Linked DNA regions of Homo sapiens: region 1 is linked to region 2. The links are contacts of gene promoters, found by promoter capture Hi-C in blood cells and fetal thymus (Javierre and others, 2016). All regions are on one chromosome and are shown on one strand. Each heading gives the region's core, a stretch centred on a gene start or on the middle of the fragment in contact. The rest is flanking DNA. Distances are from core to core; before and after follow the strand shown. Region 1 holds the start of COA1 (cytochrome c oxidase assembly factor 1). Region 2 holds the start of MPLKIP (M-phase specific PLK1 interacting protein).

Region 1 (7,263 bases), core at 1,051-3,550, 3.6 Mb before region 2:
AACCTAGCTAATGTTAATTTTCTCAGTGTCTTTGAGGTAAATACTGTCTAACTTTTACTTATTTTTATGACAGGACATTATGGCACGCTCAATGCTTTGTTTTCTCAAAGCTCTTATGCCAAAATTTTCTTCTTTCTCTCAATAGGTGGATAGTTCCTTAACATGATAAAAGATGTCTACTTCAGTCCTTAAAACCAGCATCATGCTTAATGGGAAAATTCTAAAGATATCTCATTAAAGATAGGAATAAGACATAAAAGTCTACTGTCATTATTATTATTAAATATTTTACTGGAGATACTAGCCAAAACAATTAGATATGAGAAAGTAGAGGTATAAAACTTGGAAAGAAGTAGGTAAAACTATTTCAATGATAAGATTGCAATCTTAGAAATTCTACCAGAATGAACTCCAAACAATAAAGCAACTTAGTAAGGCAGTGGATCACAATATTAATATGCAGGAAATGATACTTTCATGTATACATACAACTACGATGTGTAGTAACCTCATTCAGATTTGATAGTTATAGGATCCTGCTGCTCTTGAGTGAATCTCAAAGCAGCCATTTAACCACTTAACAGTAGCCCTCATACAGCATTATAGTCAGCCCCTCCTCTCTTCACCTCCTACCCCTTCCCTGGCTCCTTAGTTTAAAAGTATCAAAACAGACCCTTTCTTTAAATATATAGAAAAAGAGAGGTAGAATGTGTATTTTGATGGGTAATTTTGGCTATAAGAAACAGAATCCCTGACTTAAGGTGAGTTAATAATAACTAAAATTTATTAAGCACTTAAAATACTTACAATATGACCAGCACTATTTTAACCCATTTAATCTTTATGGCATCTCTATCAGAAAACAGTAAGGATCCCAGCACTCTGGGAGGCCAAGGTGGGTGGATCACTGAGGTCAGGAGTTCAAGAGAAGCCTGGCCAACATGGTGAAACCCCTTCTCTACTAAAAATACAAAAATTAGCCAGGCGTGGCAGTGCATGCCTGTAGTTACAGCTACTTGGGAGGCTGAAGCAGGAGAATTGCTTGAACCCGGGAGGCAGAGGTTGCAGTGAGCTGAGATCATGCCACTGCATTCCTGCCTGGGCGACAGAGTGAGACTCAGTCTCAGAAAAACAGAAAACAAAAACAATAAGGAAACTTATTAGACATTCCTACAAGGCATTCAGATACAGGGTGAGCTCCAGGTTTGGAATGATGTCACCAAGGACATTGTTTTATAACTTGTTCAGTTGTCCTCAGCATTGGTCCATCAGTTTTATTCCTTGTGATGGGCAAGATGGCTACTAATGACAGTGTGGGATAGATGTTTCGACGTCAAGAGGACAGTATATCAGAAACTTTCTCCTGAGCATGAAATAGAGGTCCTTTCCTTCAGTCAGATTGCGCCAACCTGGGTCATATACTCGTTCCTTGATTAGCAACTATTTCCAAAAAAATTCTGTGTGAAGACTGGTTTAATCAGTATCATTTTGATTCTGGGAACAGGGCAGCTATCTGAATAAAATAAGGATTTTGGTACAAAGGAGTTAGAGGAAAATGAATATTGGATAGGTAACATTATTCACTATAGAGTTTTGTTTTTAATGTAAAATTTAGACGACAAAAAAATTCTGTGTGATGACTGGTTTAATCAGTATCATTTTGATTCTGGGAACAGGGCAGCTATCTGAATAAAATAAGGATTTTGGTACAAAGGAGTTAGAGGAAAATGAATATTGGATAGGTAACATTATTCACTATAGAGTTTTGTTTTTAATGTAAAATTTAGACGAAAACTTTAGCAGATTTAAGTCCAGTGATAGAAATGTTAAGTTCTGAGTTTTCAAGCAAATGGTCAGAAAAGCCTATTTAATGTTTTATTACTTACAAAGTAAACATATTTCTCTTTCTGGTACAGAACGGGAGCTAATTGATCTCGGGTTCATTTTCATGAACGTTGTATGAAATGCACATATACCAAACCTCATAAGCTTTTTATTAGTTGATTTATTCTTTGAAATATTAAGCTTGGTGTAAGGTATTATAACCTCAATCTCTTTGAAAATGTAATAAGTCAATAATCAATGTTGCATCAATGAATATTACTCAGTGGATGCCTATTTTATTTCTTCTTTTTCTCTAAGAACCATTTAAATAGTCCTTATGGCCGAGCACTTCACAATCTGATTAGTTTCTATTAATTCTTTGGAAAAGAAACATTCTGGGAAGTCAGAATTCAGCGGTAGGTTGCTTTGATAATGTGCTCATTTAGCTAGTGGATTCCAGAGTGATAGAATGTATGTTTGGCAACCTAATTGTTGTGGAGGAAGAAAAGAACTTCTGTTAGAAGTTTTTAAAAAAGTTTAAAAATTGTTTTTACCTCATCAAAAGTTTGATGTCTTGTGAGTTTTATAGCATGCATAATATATTAATGCCATACATGACACATGTAAATATATATATATTTTTTCTGATAGGGATGTGTGAGCAAGAGTTTAAAGAAGAATGCCCCAGTCTAAAGTTAATTAGTCTTGGAGTGATGGCTTCGCAGAGGAAAGATACTGGATTTCAAGCTTGACATTAAGGTGATAATAGTGGTGACTATGGAATAATCAATATAAAAATAATAACAGCTAACAGTTACTGAGCGCCTACAAACTGCCAGACACTACTCTAAGTGCTTCACATCCTCATAACAAATTTATGAGGTAAATGCTATTATTATCCACCAGCCTTCTGAAATTTTCTTACCCCGTTACTCCCTGGTGTTAACTGGGTACTTAATTTGTCGAATAAAATAAAATTTAGTGCTGCCAAATTTGTCAGCTGAACGGGGCGGCAGGAATTTCAGTGCTAGAGTGGGGGGCCAGACGGCCCGGGGCTTCGTGTCCTTGGAGGCCAGCGGAAGCGCCGCATACCTGTGAGGAGCAACGTGAGCCGGTGGCTTATATTTCCTGGGCTAGTGCTACTGGACTGAATGCATTTGCAATAACCGGACGCAGAAAAAAAAAAAAAAAGCGGGGACCAGGGGAGGCGAAACCCTTCCCGGCGCGAGTCCGAGCGTCTGAGAAGCAGAAGCCACACGTCCCGGCGACCTAAGTTCTGGATCAGCCGGCCGGAGGACCCGTGTTAGCATTTACAATCCGAGGTGAGCTGAAGCCTCCGGTTGTCCCGGTTCGACGCTCTAGCCCTGCGAGCAGCCGACGCCGGAAGTCTCTACTGCTCCCCGCTGGCGCGCAGGACCGCGGGCATTTACCCGTGCTTTCCCAAGCCTGGAAGAACTCGTCATGCTCTTTGTAGCGTGGTGCTTCTGTTGCTCACAGGTTAGTCTCCCGCGGTATAAGAGTCTCCGTCTTCCCCCCAGCAAGAAGCGTTTGTTCCTGCAATTCGGGGGGCCGCCTTTGCGCGCGGGGTGCGCTGCTTCTTGGAGAGTTCCCTCACGGGTCACATCGCGGAGGTTCGCGCCGGCGCCGGGTCGCGGCCTCCCTGCGCAGCTTCTTTGGCACCTGGTAACCTTCAGTGGCTCCGTCCGCTCGGAGTTAGGAGGCTGTGTCGAGCTAACCTTGACCTTGTCCTGCAGTTTTTGCTGACCATCCCCAACAGCACACTGTAAAGAGTTAGGGTCCTCTCGAAGAGTTGGGACTGGGCACTTTTGTTGGTAGTGCTAAATTTCAACACCCTGAGGAGTACGCTGCCCAAATTATTGTAGGAAAGAATTACCTGGTTTAGTGGTTATAATACTTTTTGTCCCCACCACACTTGAATAACAGAAAAACCCTCCCAACAGGGGCTGACTGCAAAAGTGATTTTCTGTGTAGGGGACATTGGATGTATTTATGTATATATCAGTGCCTATCAGTCTGTATGTGTGTTTGGGGGTGGATGCTGTGTAATTTAAAAAAATCTATGGAGATTCTGATAATTTGATAACCTGTTTCTCCGGTCTTCCCCTGATTCCTCCCCATTCTCCCCGGAGGGCTATTGCTTTATTTCTGAGGTGGCTCACGTTTGGATAGAAGTAGCAACTCTCCGCTTACACCTGCACGTTTAAAACGCATATCAGATTGTGTTATTTCTGTCCTCAGAATCTTCCTGGCCTTCCCGTTGCTTTCAGGATAATACACATTTCTTAGCCTAACTTCAAGGGCCTACAGGGTCTTGATTCTGCTGAGTTTTTCAGTCTTTGCTACTTTCATGGAAAACACACCTGCAGGTACACTCATATTATGCTCCCACCATGCCAGTCTACGGTAATTTAATAACTTTAGATATGGCAAAGTTTTATATGGTTTACTCAAGTTTTAATTTTTGTTCTAGCATTTAGCCAAAATCGATTGAATTCATAATATTGCTAGGCACTGTTTTAAAAACGGGATAAAATGAAAACAAAACAAAACACAAAACAAAAGTCTTCAGTCCTTTAAAAAAATAAAACAGCTTCCTGACACATAGTTCACCTACCGTAGAGTTCACCATTTAAAACGTAGCGGTGCCTCACGCCTGTAATCCCAGCACTTTGGGAGGCCGAGGCGGGTGGATCACGAGGTCAGGAGATCAAGACCGTCCTGGCTAACACGGTGAAACCCCGTCTCCACTAAAAATACAAAAAATTAGCCGGGCGTGGTGGCGGGAGCCTGTAGTCCCAGCTACTTGGGAGGCTGAGGCAGGAGGATGGTGTGAACCCGGGAGGTGGAGCTTGCAGTGAGCCGAGATTGCGCCACTGCACTCCAGCCTGGGCGAGAGAGCTAGACTCCATCTCAAAAAAAAAAAAAAAGAAAGAAAACCTAAAAGTAATTAGTACATTAGTACATTCACAAAGTTGTACAACCATCATCATAAAATATGCTGTAATCTTCTTCACCTTCATTAGTTGGTTTAATTTTCTATTTCAGACAGACTCCAATAAGTTATTCTTGTATTCTTTTGTTCATGTTTAATATGCTGCATTCAGTTTGTGAGAGCCATATTGGAACAATTGAACATTTTCATCACTCCAAAAGGAAACCCTGTACTTATTCAGCAGGCTCACCTGACTTCCCCATCCCCACTCCCCATTCTAAGCCCTAAGCAACTATGAATTGACTGACTGTATATTTGACTATTCTGGATTATTCATGTGAGTGAAATCATACAGCATGTGGTCTTTTTCAACTGGCTTCTTTTACTTAACATTCATGTTCATCTGTGTTGTATTTAATAGCATGTGTCAGTACTTTTTTTTATTGCTGGTTAATCTTTTATGGGTATTACCACGATTTATTTTCCATTAGTTAGTGGACGTTTGGATTGTTTCCACCTTTTGGCCATTATGTGTAATGCTGCTGTGAACATTCACCTACAAGTTTTTGTGTGGACATCATGTTTTCATTTCTCTTGCGTATGTGCCTAGGAGTGAAATGGCTGGGTCATATGGTAGCTCTGTTTAACATTTTAAGAAATGGTCAGACTGTTTTCCAAAGCATCAGTGTGCATCTTTTTAACATTCGCACCAGTAGTGTATTAGGGTTTTGATTTCTCACTCCTTGCCAACACTTGTCATTATCTGTCTTTCTGATTCTAGCCATTCCAGTGGGTGTGAAGTGTGTGTCATTGTGTTTTCATTCTTTTTCGTTGACATGTAATAATTGTACATATTTAGGGACTACAGAGTGATATTTTGATAAATGTATACAATGTGTAGTGATCAAATCAGGTAATTAGTATGTCCACCACCTGAAACGTTCATCTTTTCTTTGTGTTGCGACCATTAAAAATCTCCTAACTTTTTGAAAATATTATGGTTTCAAATCGTATTTCCCTGATGGCTAATGATGTTGAGCATCTTTTCAAGTGCTTATTGCCCATTTATTTATCTTCTTTGGAGAAATGTGTACTCAGATCCTCTGCCCATTTTTAAATTAGGTTCTTTTTTGTAATTGAGTTGCAAGAGTTCTTTATATATTCTAGATACAAGTCATTTATCAGATATGTGATAGTCTTTTAGATTATGCTACCGTTCTTTTAAATGAAAAGCACATGAGATTAATTTTTTGTAGCCCTGGAGACCTCCTTATGGGTATGTGGCTGTGGTTTAGAGAGTGATGGTTTTCCAACAACTACGTGGGAGGCCAGGCCCAGGAAAAATGCTGTGAAAGAACCCGTGAGGAGCATTTTAAGACTTGAAAAATGAAGCAAGGAAAAACTTTATAATTTGCCATTCCGTATGGAGTTTTGTCTTTATTGATTTTTAGGAGTTCTTTGTGTAGGGATTTAAGCCATTGACTGTTAGATATGTGGCAGATATTTTCAATCTATTTAGTTAACTTTGTTTTATATTTTTTACTATATTGTTTTACATTTTTGTGTAGTCAGGACTTTGCCTCTAAAAGCCTTCTGGCTAATAGTTTAGGATATTGTTCTTTAATTATAGGAGTTATAGAAACTGACATAGTAGTTCCCAGTTAGTGTGACATCTGAGTCCCTGGTGGTATATTTAGCCTAAGAGTGTTCATTGTTTCAGACATTGTTGCCTCCCTGTCTCTCTGCCTTGAAAAATGTGCCATGATCTGCTTCAACTTTGTTCATTTAACTCTCTATTTTAAACAGACTCCAAGAAGTTATTCTTTTATCCTCTTGTTCATGTTTCATATGCTGCATTAGATTTGTGAGAGCCATATTGGACAGTTGGTCACCAAATAGTAGGTACTTTTTTCATACTAGCAGGCATTTATTTGAAGATTATTTAATGTATGCAGAGGTTGAGTGTAGCTATTGTGTTCTGTATTGTTTGGGGCATGTTGGAAAAAGTAGTTTTATAAAATCCTATTAACATTGTTTTGTATTTTTTTAATTTTGTTGGTTAAAAGGCAGTAGTAGTAATATATATAGTATATATATAATATATATATTTTTTGAGATGGAGTTTCGCTCTTGGTACCCAGGCTGGAGTGCAATGGTGCGATCTCGGCTTACTGCAACCTCCGCCTCCTGGGTTCAAGTGATTCTCCTGCCCCAGCCTCCTGAGTAGCTGAGATTACAGGTGACTGCCACCATGCCCAGCTAATTTTTTTGTTTTATAGTAGAGACGGGGTTTCACCATGCTGGCTAGGTTGGTCTGGAACTCCTGACCTCAGGTGATCCACCGCCTCGGCCTCCTAAAGTGCTGGGGTTATAGGCATGAGCCATTGCGCCCAGCCAGTAGTAAAAGTATTTTTAGAAACTGAGCATTTTGAGAATCTAAGGAAAGTGATATACAATAGCTTCCAGAAAAAAATTGCATCTCTCTG
Region 2 (6,731 bases), core at 2,128-4,627:
AACAAAATCATAACTGGCTGGGGCACAGGGGGCTCATGCCTGTAATCCCAGCACTTTGAGAGGCCCAGGTGGCTGGATTCTGTGAGCTGAGGAGTTCAAGACCAGTGTGGGCAACATGGCAAAACCCCATGTCTTCAAAAAATACAAAAATTAGCCAGGCATGGTGGCACACACTTCTGGTTTCAGCTACTTGGGAGGCTGAGGTGGAAGGATTGCTTGAGCCCAGAGAGGCAGAGGTTGCAGTGAACTGGGATTGCGCCACTGCACTCCAGCCTGGATGAAAGAGCAAGACATGTCTCAATACTTAAATAAATAAAAAATATATAGAGAGAGTATACTGCTATACGACAGAAAAACACAACTCAAACTTTTTTATTGGTCACTTTTATCTTGCTACAAAATGTACTACTAGAAGCTTAAAAAGAGCATGGCTTTTGAATTTTAATAAATTTTAGTGAACTTTAGTTAGATTGAAGTTATACAGATAAATGGGTTGATGGAATAAAGATCTATATACTCATTAGGCGTCCATCAGTTAAACTGTTTACTATTAAATTAATTTGTTGGTTGGGCATGGTGGCTCACCACACCATTTAATTGCAGAGTTTTGGGAGGCCAAGGCAGGAGAGAGGAATGCTTGAGGTGGGGAGTTCTGGGAAACACAGCAAGACCCTGTCTCTACAAAAAATAAAGAAATAAAAAAATTAGCCAGGCATGGTAGCATGAGCCTGTACTCCCAGCTACTTGGGAGACTGACGTGGGAAGATCACTTGAGCCCAGGAGGTCGAGGATGCAGTGATCTGTGATCTCACCACCGCACTCCAGCCTCGGTGACAGAGTGAGACCACCCCATGTCCATAATAATAATAATAAAGTTAATTTTGGTCCCCACCACTCTCACTTTTCTGCCCCCTCCCCTGAGTAGACTGGCTGATGATCTAAAAGGTGAAAATTACCTATGTGATGTATGTGAACCTTTTTTTTTTCCAGTGGGGTGGGGGGGCATGATAGGGTCTCGCTCTGTTACCCAGGCTGGAGTGCAGTGGCACAATAGCGGATCACTGCAGCTTCAACCTCCTAGGACTCAAGCCATCCCACCTCAGCCTCCCAAGCAACTGGGACTACAGGCGCACGCCACCAAGCCCGGCTAATTTTTTTTGTATTTTTGGTAGAAATGGGGCTTCACGATGTTGCCCAGGCTGGTCTTCAACTCCTGGGCTCAAGCAATCGTCCCACCTAGGTCATTTTATTCAATAAATATTCAAATGAGCAATTCCCAAGCATTAAGTTAAACACTAAAGACAATGTCCAGAAAGGTGAATTTTTGGCCAGGACAGAACTACTGTATTTAATAAAGTGGATAGGCTGGAGTCCTCCGACCTTAATTGTATCACTAAGCCTTAATGGCAACGTGCTACCTTGATTAAGTCTATCACTTGTATCTACAGAAGAAACGAAATGTAGTGAATTGAATTTCCACAGAATAAACAAACAAAAAAACTGTCTGTGTGTGTCTCCATTCATCAAGGAGGATAGAAGCTGAGAAGATACCACACTCGTCAGCTTGGGATGTCACAGAACATGTCAAAGAGACAGCGAGGAGTAGCAGCTACAAGAGGGTGAATGGAAATCACAGGTCCAGGCTACCCGTTAGGCTATGATTTAATGAGTCCTAAAGCTCTTTTAAGATTCTGTATCCTACGCCAGGCGCGGTGGCTCACGCATGAAATCCCAGCACTTCGGGAGGCAGAGGCAGGCGGATCACTTGAGCCCAGGAATTTGAGACCAGCCTGGCCAACATGGTGAAACCCGTCTTTACTAAAAATACAAAAAAATTAGCCGGGCATGTGGCACATGCCTGTAATCTCGGCTACTCTAGAAAGCTGAGGCAAGAGAATCGCTTGAACCCGCGAGGCAGAGGTTGTGGTGAACCAAGATCGCGCCACTGCACTCCAGCCTGGGCGACAGAGCGAGACTGTCTCAAAAAAAAAAAAAAAAATCCTGCATCCTGCAACTAATTTCAAGATTCATAGTGGGCCGCGCGCATAATCATAGAGATTACGTCTGTAATCTCAACACTTTGGGAGGCCGAGGCGGGAGGATAACTTGAGGTCAGGAATTCGAGACCAGCCTGGCCAATATGGCGAAACCCCGTCTCTACTAAAAATACAAAAATTAGTTGGGCGTGGTGGCGCATGCCTATAATCCCAGCTACTCGGAAGGCTGAAGCAGGAAAATCTCCTGAACACGGGAGGAGGAGGTTGCAGTGAGCCGAGATCGCGCCACTGCAGTCCAGCCTGGGCGAGACAGCGAGACTCCGTCTCAAAAAAAAGAGAAAAAAAGAAAAAAGGAAAAAAAAGATTCATAGTGGATTACCATTCCCAAATTCAGAGGGAGTAAAGAAAGTTCTATAACACTGTAGTAAAGCTAAATTTCATCCTCTAAATAAAATTCTGCAACAGGTAACTGTACAAGGGCATCTTTTATTGTACATGAAGTGTCAAGTTATTCAAAGCAGCGGGCTAAAGTCCTTTCTGAAATGTGGCTTGGTGTGCATTTTCGAAGTTACTTAAACTTGGCGGACGAAAGGACAGGAGTAAAGAGGCCCCAAACGCGAGCCGCGGGACGCGCAGGAGCGGGACCCCACGGCGCACGGAGCCCTCGGTCACAACAACGCACGGGACAGAGGCGACCCTGGGCGGCCAGAGCGGGGCAGGCCGGCCGCAGGCCCACGGAACGGGGTTGCAGGGAGGCGAGCAAAGCCACCGCTAAGGGGTCAGCAGAGACTTCAGACCCTAATTGCTCTCCTCAGGGCGCCCGAGGAGGCAAGCTGGGGCAGGGATCCCTTTAGCCACCCAGACCGAATCTCGGAGGGTACCTGACTGCGGGCGGCCAGTCCACAGCCCCCTCCCGCCGCCCCGGCCGGAGAAGAGGCAGGTTCTGCGCAGAGCTGCCACCCTCGCCAGCGTCGCCAGCATCGCGTGCGTCTCAGATGGCATCGGTCCCGGTGCAAGCGGCGAACTCCGTGCGGCGCCACCCGCCGCCACTGGGGGGCGCCCACGGACGCCGCAGACCCCGCCCCCGCCGGGCGGGGCTGAGCACTAGTCGCCTGCTGGGCCAGCTTCTAGTCTGTCGGTCAGACCAAGGGCACTCAGACTGGAAAGGTTGTTGCTGGGCTTGGGTGTCCGTCCTTTCCTGTCTCCTTTTCTTCCTCTTTTCACTTAAATCCACTGAGTCTCTCGCCAAGTCAGTGATTTAGGTAATCCCGCCGCCCCTGGCGGAACCTTTGTGACGCCGGAACTGATGTGCCGTAGGGTGGCTGCGGTCGGAGGACTGTTTTGGTAAAGGACTAGCAGTTCTCTGCGGAGGGCCGGTTGATACAGTTCCGGTGGGAGAACGCGGCTGCGAGGTTTTCGGCTTTGGCTCCTGATATGCAGCGACAGAATTTTCGGCCCCCAACTCCTCCTTACCCTGGTCCGGGTGGAGGAGGTTGGGGTAGCGGAAGCAGCTTCCGGGGAACCCCGGGCGGGGGCGGACCACGGCCGCCCTCCCCTCGAGACGGGTACGGGAGTCCGCACCACACGCCGCCGTACGGGCCCCGGTCTAGGCCGTACGGGAGCAGTCACTCTCCGCGACACGGCGGCAGCTTCCCGGGGGGCCGGTTCGGGTCTCCGTCCCCTGGCGGCTACCCTGGCTCCTACTCCAGGTCCCCCGCGGGGTCCCAGCAGCAATTCGGCTACTCCCCAGGGCAGCAGCAGACCCACCCCCAGGTAATAATAATAGCCAGCGTTTGCCGAGCTCTTACTTTATGGCAGGCACGGTACTAATATTCCCTTTACGTGGATTATTTTGTCTAATCCTCTCTGAGGTACTATTGTTAGCCCAATTTTGCAGATGAGCGAACTGAGGCTTAGAGAAGTTGAGTGACTTCCGGAAGATTATCCGAAAGAGTGGCAGAGCCGTACGTTCTGTTTTCGAGCCCTCGTGCTTTTAACCAATACACTGCCACCCGTACACAGATTTTCCTAATTCTCCATTTCCTCCTGTTTGCCAAAGGCCTTGCCAGTTTGTTTCAAGAAATAGTTCTTTTTCTTTTTTTTTTTTTTTTTTTTATCTTTCTTTCGAGCTACACTGGCTTCTGCTCCAACTTCCCTGAAAAGAAAATCGGTGGTAGTGGAAGTTTTCCATTCCTTTAGTGAGAGTAAATACAAAAGACAGAGAGAGTATCTCTAGCATGTCTGGGATTTCTGTGGTTTACAACTTGCAACTACGTGGTTTTCCAACTTGCTGTATTCTACACCAACCCCCTACCCCTTTTGAGCCTGGAGCTAAGGAGTAAAGAAAATGTTCATGAGCTAGAAAGGTTCTAGAAACTTTAAAACTATAGTATTGTTTTCTCCTGAAAAAAGTGAAAATTTCGAGGGAAAATTGAATATAATTACTTGATTTCATCACTGCTTGTATTTAATTACTGCAAAGTTACTACATTAGACACAAAAGTATTTGAGATGACAGTGGTCATGGAATTATAAATAAATGAGAATAACGAATTGCTTTAAGTACTTTTTTTAAAAAATAGGAACACTTGATTAAAGGAAGCATGGACTTTGTAATTGAACATTATTTAGGTTCAAGTCACAACTTTTAAGCAGCAATGTGATTCCCGCTAACCTTTAGCTAAAGGAAGAAGTACCAATTATCTTTACTAAGTGTTTTTTTAACTGATTTTTTTTCTAAAGGGTTCTCCAAGGACATCTACACCATTTGGATCAGGGCGTGTTAGAGAAAAAAGAATGTCTAATGAGTTGGAAAATTATTTCAAGCCTTCAATGCTTGAAGATCCTTGGGCTGGCCTAGAACCAGTATCTGTAGTGGATATAAGCCAACAATACAGCAATACTCAAACATTCACAGGCAAAAAAGGAAGATACTTTTGTTAACATTTCTGAAATTCAACTGGAAGCTTCATGTGTCAGGAACATCTTGGACAAAACTTTAAGTTGTGTTGATATAAATTTACCCAAAGATGATGACTTTGATTGGATAATTAGTAAGGTCTTTTTGTTATTTTTCATCGTATCAGGTATTGTTGATATTAGAGAAAAAAGTAGGATAACTTGCAACATTTAGCTCTGGAAGTACCTACCACATTTTAGAGATTTACCGTTTCCATATATTTAACATTCCTGGTTACATAATGGACATTTGTCTTTTAATGTTTTTTCAATGTTTTAAAATAAAACATTTTGTCTTCTAGCTATTGTGGTTTTGTGGTATGATAAAGAAGTAGACTTACTACAGTAATGCTTTGTAGTCACTTAGAGTTCATAGGTAAATGTTTTGCAAATTATTTTTGAAAATGAAATAGGTAAACCATCCTTTGAGCTGTAGACAGCTCTGTATTTGTTCGTAAATAATGAGGATGAGAATAACAGAGTTCTGTTCATACTCATTTTATCTAATGCTTCTGTTAAAATGCATTAAAACTTGAAGCCCCAGAAACCCATTTAAGCATAACTTTATACTCATTTAACTGGAAAAGGCAAGAATAGACCATGCATTGCTAAATCAAAGTGTTCTATCTGAATTTCTCTATACCTCTTAGCATTATGGAGTTAGTTTCTCTTGAGGCCAAAGAAGATAGCTACCAGCAGCCTCAAATCACTTCCATTGCAAAAAGAACATCTCTCATCTCCATCAATCCAAGAGAAGACAAATTTGCCATACTTAGATCATGTTTCTGTATTATTGAACCAATTAACTGTGGCCAAGGCCACAGTGAGACCTAATTAACTTGAATCATGGACACATCACCATAATGAGACAGGATTCTGTGACCTTGAACACCACTGGGCCTACCTGGAGTAGAGAAGTGGTTTTCCAAATTAAGGGATGCTATGGATATATACCTATAGTTCTGGAGAGAAAAATATGGAAGAATTGTTACCCCAACTATTTTTTAAAAATCAAGTGGTTTTTTGTTTGTTTTTTGAGATGGAGTCTGTTGCCCAAGCTGGAGTGCAGTGGTGCAATCTTGGCTCACTGCAACCTTCGGCTCCTGAGTAGCTGGGACTACAGGCACATGTCACCATGCCTGGCTAATTTTTGTATTTTTAGTAGAGACCATGTTTTGTTTTTTTTGTTTGTTTTGTTTTGTTTTTGAAATAGGGTCTCACTCTGTTGCCCACGCTGGAGTGCAGTGGCGCAATCTTGGCTCACTGCAACGTCCGCCTCCCAGGTTCATACGAGTCTCCCGCCTCGACCTCCTGAGTAGCTGGGAATACAGGCACGCGCCTGGCTCATTTTTGTATTTTGAATAGAGATGGGGTTTCACCGTGTTGGCCAGGCTGGTCTCGATTGAACTCCTGGTCTCAAGTGATCCCCTACCTTGGCTTCCCAAAGTGCTGGGATTTCAGGCATGAGCCACCGTGCCCAGCCCAGAACATGTATTTTTAGTATTTTTAGTATTTTTAGTTTCACCATGTTGACCAGGCTGGTCTCGAACTCATGATCTCAAATGATCCACCCATCTCAGCCTCCCACAGTGCTGAGTTTACAGGCGTGAGCCACCATGCCCGGCCAAAATCAGGTGTTTTAACATGTAACACAGACTCTAGGCATTTTGAAGTTACAAAATACGAAGATAGAGCTAGTAAAACTTTTGTTTCAACATTCCCAGAAAGAAACGTGTAAAAACAAAATGGTCACACCTCCTATTTGAACCATACCCA

Evidence for each region. The method cuts DNA at HindIII sites, captures the fragments that hold promoters and counts their contacts. A CHiCAGO score of 5 or more calls a contact.
Region 1: a contact is called between a fragment that was not itself captured here and the fragment with the promoter of MPLKIP in region 2, in 1 of 17 cell types (total B cells). The highest score is 5.5, in total B cells.

Annotation. Positions count from the first base shown.
Region 1 is chr7:43,725,487-43,732,749 of GRCh38, reverse strand. It overlaps COA1 (cytochrome c oxidase assembly factor 1), which reads left to right and starts at 3,227. Exons shown (of 6, transcript NM_018224.4): 1 at 3,227-3,321. RefSeq lists enhancers at 2,917-3,116, 2,483-3,211, 3,212-3,941. The HindIII fragment of the contact is 546 bases long and covers 2,028-2,573 here.
Region 2 is chr7:40,131,268-40,137,998 of GRCh38, reverse strand. It overlaps MPLKIP (M-phase specific PLK1 interacting protein), which reads left to right and starts at 3,377. Exons shown (of 2, transcript NM_138701.4): 1 at 3,377-3,770; 2 at 4,740-6,731. The coding sequence starts at 3,432. The coding sequence ends at 4,940. It overlaps SUGCT (succinyl-CoA:glutarate-CoA transferase), which reads right to left and starts at 2,994. Exons shown (of 14, transcript NM_001193313.2): 1 at 2,879-2,994. The coding sequence starts at 2,978. RefSeq lists silencers at 2,922-3,121, 3,582-3,651 and an enhancer at 3,302-3,371. The HindIII fragment of the contact is 4,548 bases long and covers 418-4,965 here.